Regions from separate parts of the Homo sapiens genome. Here region 2 is linked to region 1. Evidence: promoter capture Hi-C in human tissues and cell types (Jung and others, 2019). All regions are on one chromosome and are shown on one strand. The core of a region is centred on a gene start or on the middle of the fragment in contact, and the rest is flanking DNA. Distances in the headings are between cores, read along the strand shown. Region 1 holds the start of EIF5A2 (eukaryotic translation initiation factor 5A2). Region 2 has its middle 53 kb from the start of EIF5A2.

Evidence for each region. The method cuts DNA at HindIII sites, captures the fragments that hold promoters and counts their contacts. A contact is called where the count stands out against the background at its distance.
Region 2: a contact is called between a fragment that was not itself captured here and the fragment with the promoter of EIF5A2 in region 1, in 2 of the 25 tissues and cell types used here (hippocampus and stomach).

Annotation. Positions count from the first base shown.
Region 1 is chr3:170,906,149-170,911,347 of GRCh38, reverse strand. EIF5A2 (eukaryotic translation initiation factor 5A2) reads left to right here and starts at 2,711. Exons shown (of 5, transcript NM_020390.6): 1 at 2,711-2,805; 2 at 3,507-3,706; 3 at 4,255-4,359. The coding sequence starts at 3,542. RefSeq lists a silencer at 3,051-3,190. The HindIII fragment of the contact is 14,095 bases long and covers 1-5,199 here.
Region 2 is chr3:170,959,371-170,964,569 of GRCh38, reverse strand. No RefSeq gene overlaps it. Among named protein-coding and RNA genes, the nearest start is that of EIF5A2, 53 kb to the right of the region's middle. The HindIII fragment of the contact is 3,416 bases long and covers 1,060-4,475 here.

The DNA.
Region 1 (5,199 bases), core at 1,462-3,961:
TCTTGGTCAACACAGTAATACCAGAGGTAAGGCTGCTAAAGTACACATAGTCAATCTTCATTATTTTTGGATTCCATATTTGCAAATTTGCATACTTGACATAATTTACTTATAATCTTAAAATCAATACTTGCAGTGCTTTTGAAGTCATTTGTGAACATGCACAGAGACTCGTGCCATCTAACGCACATTTAGCTGAGGTCAAACTCAGCCATGCTCTGCCTTCTTGTTTCAGTCGTCAAACTGTTAACCAGTATTCTTTTCAGTCTATTTATTGCCAGTTTTTGCATTGTTGTGCTTTTTGTTGGTGATTTCACCATTCAAAATGGCCCCCAAGCACTGTGCTGAAGAGCTGTCTAATGTTCCAAAACACAAGAAAGCTACAGTGTGCCTTACAGAGAGCATATGTTAGATAAGCTACCTTCAGGTATGAATTACATTGCTGTTGGCCATGAGTTTAATGTTAATGAACCAACAATATATAGGAAATCAGGTGTCTTTAAATGGAAACACACTAAAAATCACATATTAACCAATGTTGTGGCCCAGAGGCTCAGAGGAACCTAACCCTGTATTTCCCCTAGGAGCAATGGTTTAGTATTTGCCAATTCAGTGTTCTTACTGACTTCAGGAGAACTGACTGTATTTATTGAATGAGTAATGCTCAGTCATTTGATTCCAAACCCAAATCTTTTGTGAATGCAGTATATGGTGGTAGGTAGAGCAGTGACTCTGGAACCAAACTGCCTAGGTTCCAACCTTGGTTTTCCAACTTACTAGCTTTGTAATCTGGGGCAAATTGCTTTTCTCCTTTTTCCGTAACTAAAAATGCAGGTTAAAAAAGTACTGTTAATATTTGCCAGGGGCTGGGTGTAGAGGGAGGAAACTGAGAACAAAAAGCCACTAGAAAACTTTTGGAATGAGGGAAATATTCCATATCTTGATCATAGCAGATGATCAAGATATGTTTTTCAAAACTCATAAAAAGAAAAGGGACAAATTTTTCTTTATATGAATAACTTAACAAGGTTAAAAATAGAAAGCAGCAGTGACAAACAAAGGAATAATGCACATCAAAAATTTAGTACACTACCTGCCTATATAAATACTAAATACTATTAGCGATCATTGTAAAAACAATAGGGAAAAGTTAGGAGGTATAAGGAAAAGCAGAAAGAGCTAATGAACCAAGATTCTAATCTGGCTCTTTCTTTTTGGGGTGTTGGGGGTGGGGGGGGTGGTCTCACTCTGTCAGCCAGGTTGGAGTACAGTGGCCGGATCTCGGCTCACTGCAGTCTCCACCTCCCAGGCTCAAGTGATCCTCCCACCTCAACCTCCCTAGTAGCTGGGACCACAGGTGCACAGCACCATGCCCAGCTAAGTTTTCGTATTTTTGGTAGAGACGGGGTTTCACGATGCTGCCCAGGCTGATCTCGAACTCCTGAGCTCAGGGAACCCACCTGCCTCAGCCTCCCAACGTGCTGGGATTACAGGCATGAGCCACTGCTGTAATGGCTCCTTTGTATATTAGCTAGAGGCTGAATTCAGTACATGAGAGGGCAGTAACTTATTGCGAAAGTTAAATTGGACCTGTTTGAAAGATATGTGTAAACTGTAGAGTCATACAGGAATGTGAGATATGGGATTATTCATGAGACAGCAATAGGAAATCAAAGTTACCACATAAATGCGGGTGTGGGATGGGAAATAATTTCCTAGATCACCTCCCCAAGATAGGATACTGCGGTAGGTTGCGAAATGAAACTGTGAAGGGGGAGCACATCTCTTTTAAGAACCTTTCTATGGCAGTCTACAAGCTCTAGGTCAATTTTGAAGACCATCCAAGCGTTCTAATGTGCCAGGGTTAAACCCCAAACTCTAAGGAATGCCAATGCCAGGAGGAAAGAATGGATGAGTCGGCAGAACACCTCTCTGGACCCACAATGCCGTAGGAGTCAGACACCCTTCGCCTCCACAACTTCCCAACAGCCTTTGGTGTGAGAAGTGGGTTAATTCATTTCACTGCTGGCTTGTTAGCTGGCGGACGCTTCGGGAGTTCCCACCCCAGGGAGCAGTGCTGACTCTACAGGGGCATCCGGCGGCAGTCGCTGCCAAAAATCTCACCAAGGGGTGAATGGGGGGTCCTCAGGACCTGCGGTGCCGAGCTGGGTAATAAAATACTGCACCTGAATTCTTCTTTAAGGACCAGGAGGAGGTTCGAACCCCAAGAAAGGCTGCAAGCTGAACCAGAAGCTCGAACCCAAAGTTCGCTTCACAGCCAGCCACACTGGCACTCGCTGAATCTGCGCGCCTCGCGAGTTCTGACGATCGTCATGTGATAACTGCCACGCACCTGATGGCAGGGGCCATTGGGTGCTTTGCTTGGTTCCCATTAAAGTCGACTGCGACCCGAACGCAACAAACCTAAGAGTTGGAAGGCGCAAGTTCCTCTGCCAGCGAGCTCACCCTCGGCAACCAGACTGCTGAAAGTGCGCTCCACGCCGGAAGTGCACTAATCCGCAGCACGTGGGGTTGCCAGGGCGCTCTTCACGTGACTGGGCGGAGCCTCGGGAATCTGGTAGCCAATGGTAGCCCGAGAGGGCGGTGCCTGTGACGCTCCGGGGCCTATCCCGGAAATAGGGCTGAGTGGGGGCGGGTAAGGGCGGGGAGGCTGGGGTGTGGAAAGTGTGGCGGCCCCGCCCCGTCTCTTGGAACTGCCGCGGCCGCCACCGCCGCTGCCGGCGCCGCTGCTGTAGGGGACCAGCGCGGGTGCGCAGACGAAAGGCGCTCTTTGCCAGCTGAAAGGTGAAGACCTGGGGAAAAGCTGGTGGGGAAAAGCTGGTGGGGATGGGGCCAGAGTGAGGCAGGGCCGGGGAAGGCGCCCAGAACTGAGCGCTGACCGAGAGAAAGAAGGAGAATGGATGGGGGAACAGAGGCGAGCGCGGGACCCGCCGGGGCTCAGGCCCTAGTGGGGCCGGGCCGGGCCGAGCTGAGCCCTGGATGCCGGCAGAACAGGGGGCGCCTGTGCGGCCGCGGCGGCGACGTTGAAGGGTGGAGGGCGGGGTGCGCGCCAGCTAGCAGAGGGCCGGGTGCTGCTGGCCAGGTTCTGTTACCCCGCATCCTTCGCGGGGACCTGCGGCCTGGGCTGGGTCCCCCGCAGTAGGGTTCGGGGCGGCGGCCGAGGGCTGGGCGGCGGGGGAAGGTCGCCGGCTTCTGCGGTGGGGCGATGGGGGCCGCAACCTGCTGTTTCCAGCACGGAGGAGCGCCCAGGGCGGGTGTCCCCACCCTCAGCGAGCTCCTCTGCGACTTCTCATCCCACCTCCCCAAGCAGTAGCTGGAAAAGTTTGTAGAGGCCAGAGTTAGAAAGTGGCCACTAGTCTAGGGTGGGTGTTCCTTACATGCAGAAATAACGGGCCCATGATGCTTGGCACATAACTTGTCCGAAATGAGACGTTTCCCTGCCTACATACCCGTTGTTAAAAAGCAAACACAAACTTTTTGTGTAGTTCCCACGGAAAAACTACCATCTCCCCTGCCCACCATGGCAGACGAAATTGATTTCACTACTGGAGATGCCGGGGCTTCCAGCACTTACCCTATGCAGTGCTCGGCCTTGCGCAAAAACGGCTTCGTGGTGCTCAAAGGACGACCATGCAAAATAGTGGAGATGTCAACTTCCAAAACTGGAAAGCATGGTCATGCCAAGGTAAGTACCCTTGCAGATCAGGCTTTGGCTTCGGCGTTGGGACTTTGATCATTTGTATTCCGTTACAGATCATGAGATTTCTATACTTAAAATTTTGTAATAAGCACTATTTTTTCCTTCCCACAATTACTGGGTAATCAGTTATTACGTTGAATACTTAAAGGTAGCATTCCCTTCTTGGGCCCTTACAATGTTCATTAACTGGGAACTGAAACTTTCCTGAATCCTAGTGACCTATAAGATCTATTTAGTTTACAGATGAGAAAACCTGTTCTAGCAATTCTAAGAAATCTACACTTTATTTTTCTTGTGTAATCTCATAATTGAATCACTGGTCTATATTGGGTCTTGACATGTCGTGATACTGTTTAGTTGTTTACTGCCTCTTAATTGTAAGACCACTACATTTTTTTTTAAGTAAAATTAGATGACCTTGGAAGGAGGAGAAAAAGAATCTGTTGTAATCAGCATTGGTATTGTGCTCTTGTGTGTGTAATGAGTGATATACTTGGCAGAGATTAAACAGGTTTCCTGTTCTCCTCTGTTAGGTTCACCTTGTTGGAATTGATATTTTCACGGGCAAAAAATATGAAGATATTTGTCCTTCTACTCACAACATGGATGTTCCAAATATTAAGAGAAATGATTATCAAGTAAGCACTGATTTTCTTTAGAATGTTGCTTGTTTCTTCAAGGTGCAAATACTTTGTACTATCAGTAATAATTTGACAAAACCCAAGAGTAGTTTTGTAGGTTTTTCTAACCAATTATTAGGCACCAGCTATCTTAGAAATTGGAGAAATAGTGATGTTTAACACATGTACTTTTCTAGGATTATTGCTAGTTTGCTATTTTTTTCACATTCTTGCATTTTTTAAAAAGTCAAATACTTATTAGTGTTCTCAGGCCAAGTGACTGCATATTGCAATTAAGTCCAATGTTTAGTAAAAGTACTATTCTCTCTGTTGTAAAATATTTCTTGTTCTAATTTAAAACATCCCTCCTGGATGTTTTGTTTCTTTTCACTGATCAGACCTGAGACATTCAAGAAACTACTGAAATTCATGTTCCTACCAAGTTTTTGCATTAATGAATGTTAGTCAGAACTTGACATTCTTAAGTAGAGAAATAAGTTGAAAGCCATAAATATAAAGGATAAAGTACCTGGTCACTGAGTATGGTGAAGAAAACACAAAAACTATATAATTGGTTAAATTATACTTAGTGACCATGCTATGACCTTTTGCTAAATTATGTATGTAAATTTCAAGTTTTAGTTCCAGTTATACATTTGGGTAGGTCATATTTAATGATAGCATTTTGTTGTTTGAAGTATTGATGATAACAAAATAATTGACCTTATAGGATGTGGAAGCTCAGATTACTTATAACTAAAGCTTTTCTTGAAAGTCTTCAATTTCTGTATCAAGCATACCATATATCAAACTCATTTCTGCTCATTTTACATAGTGAAAAATACAAAGTTGACACTG
Region 2 (5,199 bases), core at 1,518-4,017, 53 kb before region 1:
GGTCTATCTGGGTGGTAGAATTACATAATAAATTCTACTTTTTTGTTGTTCTTGTTTTATCTTTAAAAGCATGCAAGTGTTTAAGTTGTGTATGAGAAAGGCTTTTTTTTTCCAAAAAAGTAACCCTCAAATTAACATAAAATTAAATTTCTATTTTAATTAATAGTCCCAATTTGAAATAAAGTTGGGGTGAACTATGTAAGTAATAATATTTCTTTTAAAAATAAATGGGATTAATGCAAACAACATATACTCCAAATGCGGGAGACTTTAACATTCTATCATGATTTCAAGAATTAGAGTCCTCCCTACCCATAAATAGCTCTATCAGGGTCAGAAACCCTTTTCCCTACCCTTTTCACTTATCCATATCAGGGACAATGACTCATCCTCATATACATATCTGGGCCCCCTTGGGATTCATCTCAGCATAGACAGGAAAGATATAAAAGACCCCATTCTGAAAAAGATTGAGCTTAAAATCTATTACATAAGATGCATATGCTAGTGGCTTGATTTGACTTATATAGATCTGGGACATATATGCCTGCCAACTATAGGTATTGGAGTTCTCTAAAGTCCCCTACCAGGGGAAAACACTCCTTGGTGAGATGTGTACACTGAGTATTTAGGGAGATTTTATGTAAATTGGTAAAATTTTAGTTTCTTTAACTACAAAATGTCTCTCACCTGCTTTCCTTCTCACTGGGCAACTTCCTCTTTATTAAAATTGACATCATCACTTATTATCCCATACAAATGTGCTTGTTCAGCTCCCACAATAAAATGTCTGGCCCAAAATGCCAATAGAGCTAAAGCTGAGAAACCCTAGCTTATGTATATATATGACCTCATTTATATTTTCTGAGGGCTACTTTGCTCACTTGTAACATGGGAATAAAAATACCTTCAAGGTATTTTCTGACCCTTGAAAACATAAATGATTTACTCAAGAGTACCTATCTAATAAACAATAATACTAAATATTGGACCCAGATTTCTAAATGCAGTTACCTTTCTATTTCATTACAATCTTGGTATCTACTAGATTCTTACAGCTCTCCTACTTGTATTCCCGCCTCCCTCCTTTCCTGAGCATGGTAACCCCACTCTTCAACCCTCATTTTTTTCTACCTGGCTTTCTTACCTTTTCTGACCTCCGATACTGTCTTCTCTTGGGTTATCATTTGGCCTTCTTATCCTCTGGTTCTATGTTAGGCCCAAGTAACAATGTTAGAGCCTGAAATTCCTTCCTTCATTAATGAATGTACACAATGGAATAACATTAGGAATATAATTTCTCTCCTAAATATTTTTATTGTTTGCTTAATATAGGTGCTCAGAGTTAAAACTTAGGGGGAAAAAAGATAGCAAGAGAGAAAATTTAAATCGGTCAATCTCCAAATCTAGAAATATATCTCTGCCATCAATTTTAGTATTTTCTCTATGCAAATCTTTTCTTCTATTAAAAAGCATTATGTCAACAATATGGTGTATTTTTTTTCCTATAATAACACTGGGGGCCTCTTTCTATGCCACTAAATATTGTTCTCGAGCACCATTTTTAATAGCTCCATAGTAATTCATTGTATGGATATATTAGAATGTCTTTAACCAACTTTGTATTGTTGGTTAGGCTGCTTCTAATTTTTAGCTTTTACAAACATATTTTGTAACATATACGAAATATTCTTAAAGCAAATCTTTGATCATTCTTTTCATGTTTTTACCTAGAAGAATATATAGATCAAATGACATTCAAGAATTTAAGGGTTTTGACAGACTCAAATTGAAAGGAAATTTTACTTCAAATTGATAACTTTTTTTTTTGGTAGGTGGGGCTGCTAAGCCATGAACATCCTTTATCCAGGTTGGTTTCTCACTATGGTGGCCTCTCATTGCTTATCTGTGAAATGAACAACCAGAGTAAGGCTGGCAGTTGGTGGTAATTAGTCAGTACTTTTACCACTACTATAAACTACTTCTGAATAATCTTGAAATTCAATTCCACTGACCTTTAGTAAATTCCACATCATATTAAACACAATCCAAAGACTATAAACATAAACTGCCTACCTTGGAGGTGTTTATAATTTAGTGTACACACATTATTATGTAATACAAAATGTTATCAGTTTGGTAAGAAAATTTAAAAGTGCTGTAGAAAGAGGAATATTTCTGAGTAAGGTGTTTGGGGAAATTGTCATGAGGGAAATGATATTTAATTCAGGCTTCAATGATGGGCAAGGTCAGATTTTGAACTGGCAATAGGCAGAAGGGCATTGGGAGTATGGAGACACACAAAGCAGAATAGTCAGTGGCAAGAAAGTGTATGACATTTATTTGAAAAAAAAAGGACAGCAGTCAATGTTTCTCCTGAGTAGGGTTAATGCAAGGCAACAATAATAGATACACTGGGAAAAGAAGATTGGTATCAAACTGTAAATTCTTTGCTGAGGAGTGGAAACTATTTGGAGGGGAATAGGGAGCTGATGAAGGGGACAGAAATGCTGCACGAAGGTTACTCTGTGAGCAGTGTGGATCACAGTGGCATCTGGTGTTGGGAATTATCACAGTAGCTCTTTTGTGAGAAGAAAATAAGGGCCTGGAAATGAGAAAGGTCGAAGAGAAGGAAACTGACAGCCAGAAAACGTATAGCTGAACCTCTTCAAATTGTGTAAAATATAATAATGCAAGCAAGAGTAAAATTGGCAAATTTAAAAAGCTTGATTTATAGTCTATGTTCCTCCCACCCAAATTTTTCCTAAATTAATATGCAACTGTCAGCACAGATTGTTTGCTGTTAATTTAACTACATTTGAAAAGCTTTAGCACCACCTGGTGATGAAAACTCAGATCGACTCCAACAACCCTAAATTCCATCTTTTTTTCTGCCAAGTTTTTATTTTGAAAACATTTCAAACATACATAAAATTTTAAAGAATACTGTAATAACACCCTTACACCTTCATCATATTTACCAATTGTTATGTTTTGCCACATTTGCTTTAGTTCTTCCTCTATGTGTTGAACCATCTGAAAGTAAACTACAGACACTAAAACAATTCAAAAACTGTCAGCATAAACTTCCTGAAAGGATACCCTCTGCATAATGACAATACCATCTCCTTACCTGAAAAATTAATAATTTTACACCATCATCTAATATGCAATCTATATTCAAATCTTCCAAGTTTTCATCAAAAAAAATGTTTTTAAGTTTGCATTTTTAAGGCCAGAATGTAATCAAGACTTACGCTTTGCATTTGGTTGACATGTTTCAGGGGTCTCTTTTAATCTAGAGCAATTCTCACTTTTTATTTTGGCCTTCCATGGAGGCCTTTGCTGACTATCTTATCCAAGATCCACCCTACCCCCATTGGGGTAGGGTGCTTTTCTGTCTTTGCTTTTCTGCCCCCATTTTACTTAACATTTATTGACACTTAGCATTTAGCGGCTTTCCCTCTTCCTTTTTTTTTTTTCTTGCCTGTCTCTTCCCACTGAAGTATCAGCTCCATGAGAAGAAGGATTTTGTTTGTTTTGTTCACTGCCCACTGCTCCATCCTCAGTATCCAGAACAGTGCCTGGTATACAAAAAGTGCTCAATAAATACTATCTGTTGAAGGAAAGCATTGACCTCTGGGAGTTTGATTATTAAATGTCTTGAGGTAATATTATTTGGGTTAAATCTGCTTGTTATTCTATAACCTTCTTGTACTTGAATATTGATATCTTTCTCTAGGTCTGGAAAGTTCTGTTATTATCTCTTCAAATAAACTTTGTATCCTGGACTCTCACTCTAATTCTTTTTTAAGGCCAATTACTCTTAGATCTGCCCTTTAGGGGCTATTTTCTAGATCTTGTGGGCATTTTTCCTTTTTTTTTTTTTTGAGATGGCATCTTACTCTGTCGCCTAGGCTGGAGTGCAATGCGGCGATTTCGGCCTACTACAACCTCCACCCCCCCGGTTTCAAGCAATTCTCCTGCCTCAGCCTCCAAAGTAGCTGGGATTATAGGTGCCTGCCACTGCACCTGGCTAATTTTTGTATTTTTAGTAGGGACGGGGTTTCACCATCTTGGCCAGGCTGGTCTTGAACTCCTGACCTCGTGATCCACCCACCTCAGCCTCCCAAAGTCCTGGGATTACAGGAATGAGCCACCGCGCCCGGCCAAGCAGGCATGTTTCATTCCATTTTATTCTTTTTTGTCTCCTCTGCCTGTATATTTTTAAGCAGCCTGTCTTCATGGTCACTAATTATTTCTTCCACTTAATCCACTTTGCTGTTGAGAGAATCTGAAGCTTTCTTCCATTTATCAATTGTATTTTTTAGCTTTGGGATTTTTACATGATTTTTAACAATTATTTCAATCTTTTTGTTACATTTATCTGACGGGATTCTAAATTTCTTCTCTGTGTTATCTTGAATTTCATTGTCTTTTAAAACACCTATTTTGAAATCTCTGAGAGATTACATGTCTCTGTCTCTCTGGGATTTGCCCTTAGTCTCTTATTTAGTCCATTTGGTGTGGTCATGCTTCCTGGATGTTTCTGATGCTTGTGGATGTTTGCTGGTGTCTGGGTATTGAAGAGTTAGGTATTTATTCCAATCTTTGCATTCTGGGCCTGTTTACACCTGTCCTTGAGAAAGCTTTCCAAGTATCCAAAGGGAATTGAGGGTGTACAGCAAATCACCATGGCCACATGTCTACCTATGTAACATACCTGCATATTCTGCATCTGTATCCTGGAACTTAAAGTAAAAATTTAAAAAAAAATTACGTAAATGTGTTTAAGAAAACTACCTAAAGCCAGGGAAAGAACCATCTGAAAGAATAAAGGACATAATGTGTAGAACTCACACAGGCCTGGGAACAGTGACTGTTCCCACCAGCCAGCTGTAAGAATCTCATAAATCAGGGGCATTGAGTAGAGTACTCAGGAAGGCATTATCTCAGCACTGGGAAATATTTAGCTCTAGACTGAGTGCTGCTCTGGACCCACCTGAAAAATCATAAGAGCAAGACCTAAAAAAATCAAATTGTTTCCAAGTAACTTGATTGTATCTGAGAACAATGCTCAAGAAAATTTATAGGAATACAAAAATATCCAGCACTCAACAAGTTAAAGTTAACAATGTCTGACATCTCACCAAAGATCACCAGCCATGGAAAGGAGAAGGAAAACACAACACATAAAGA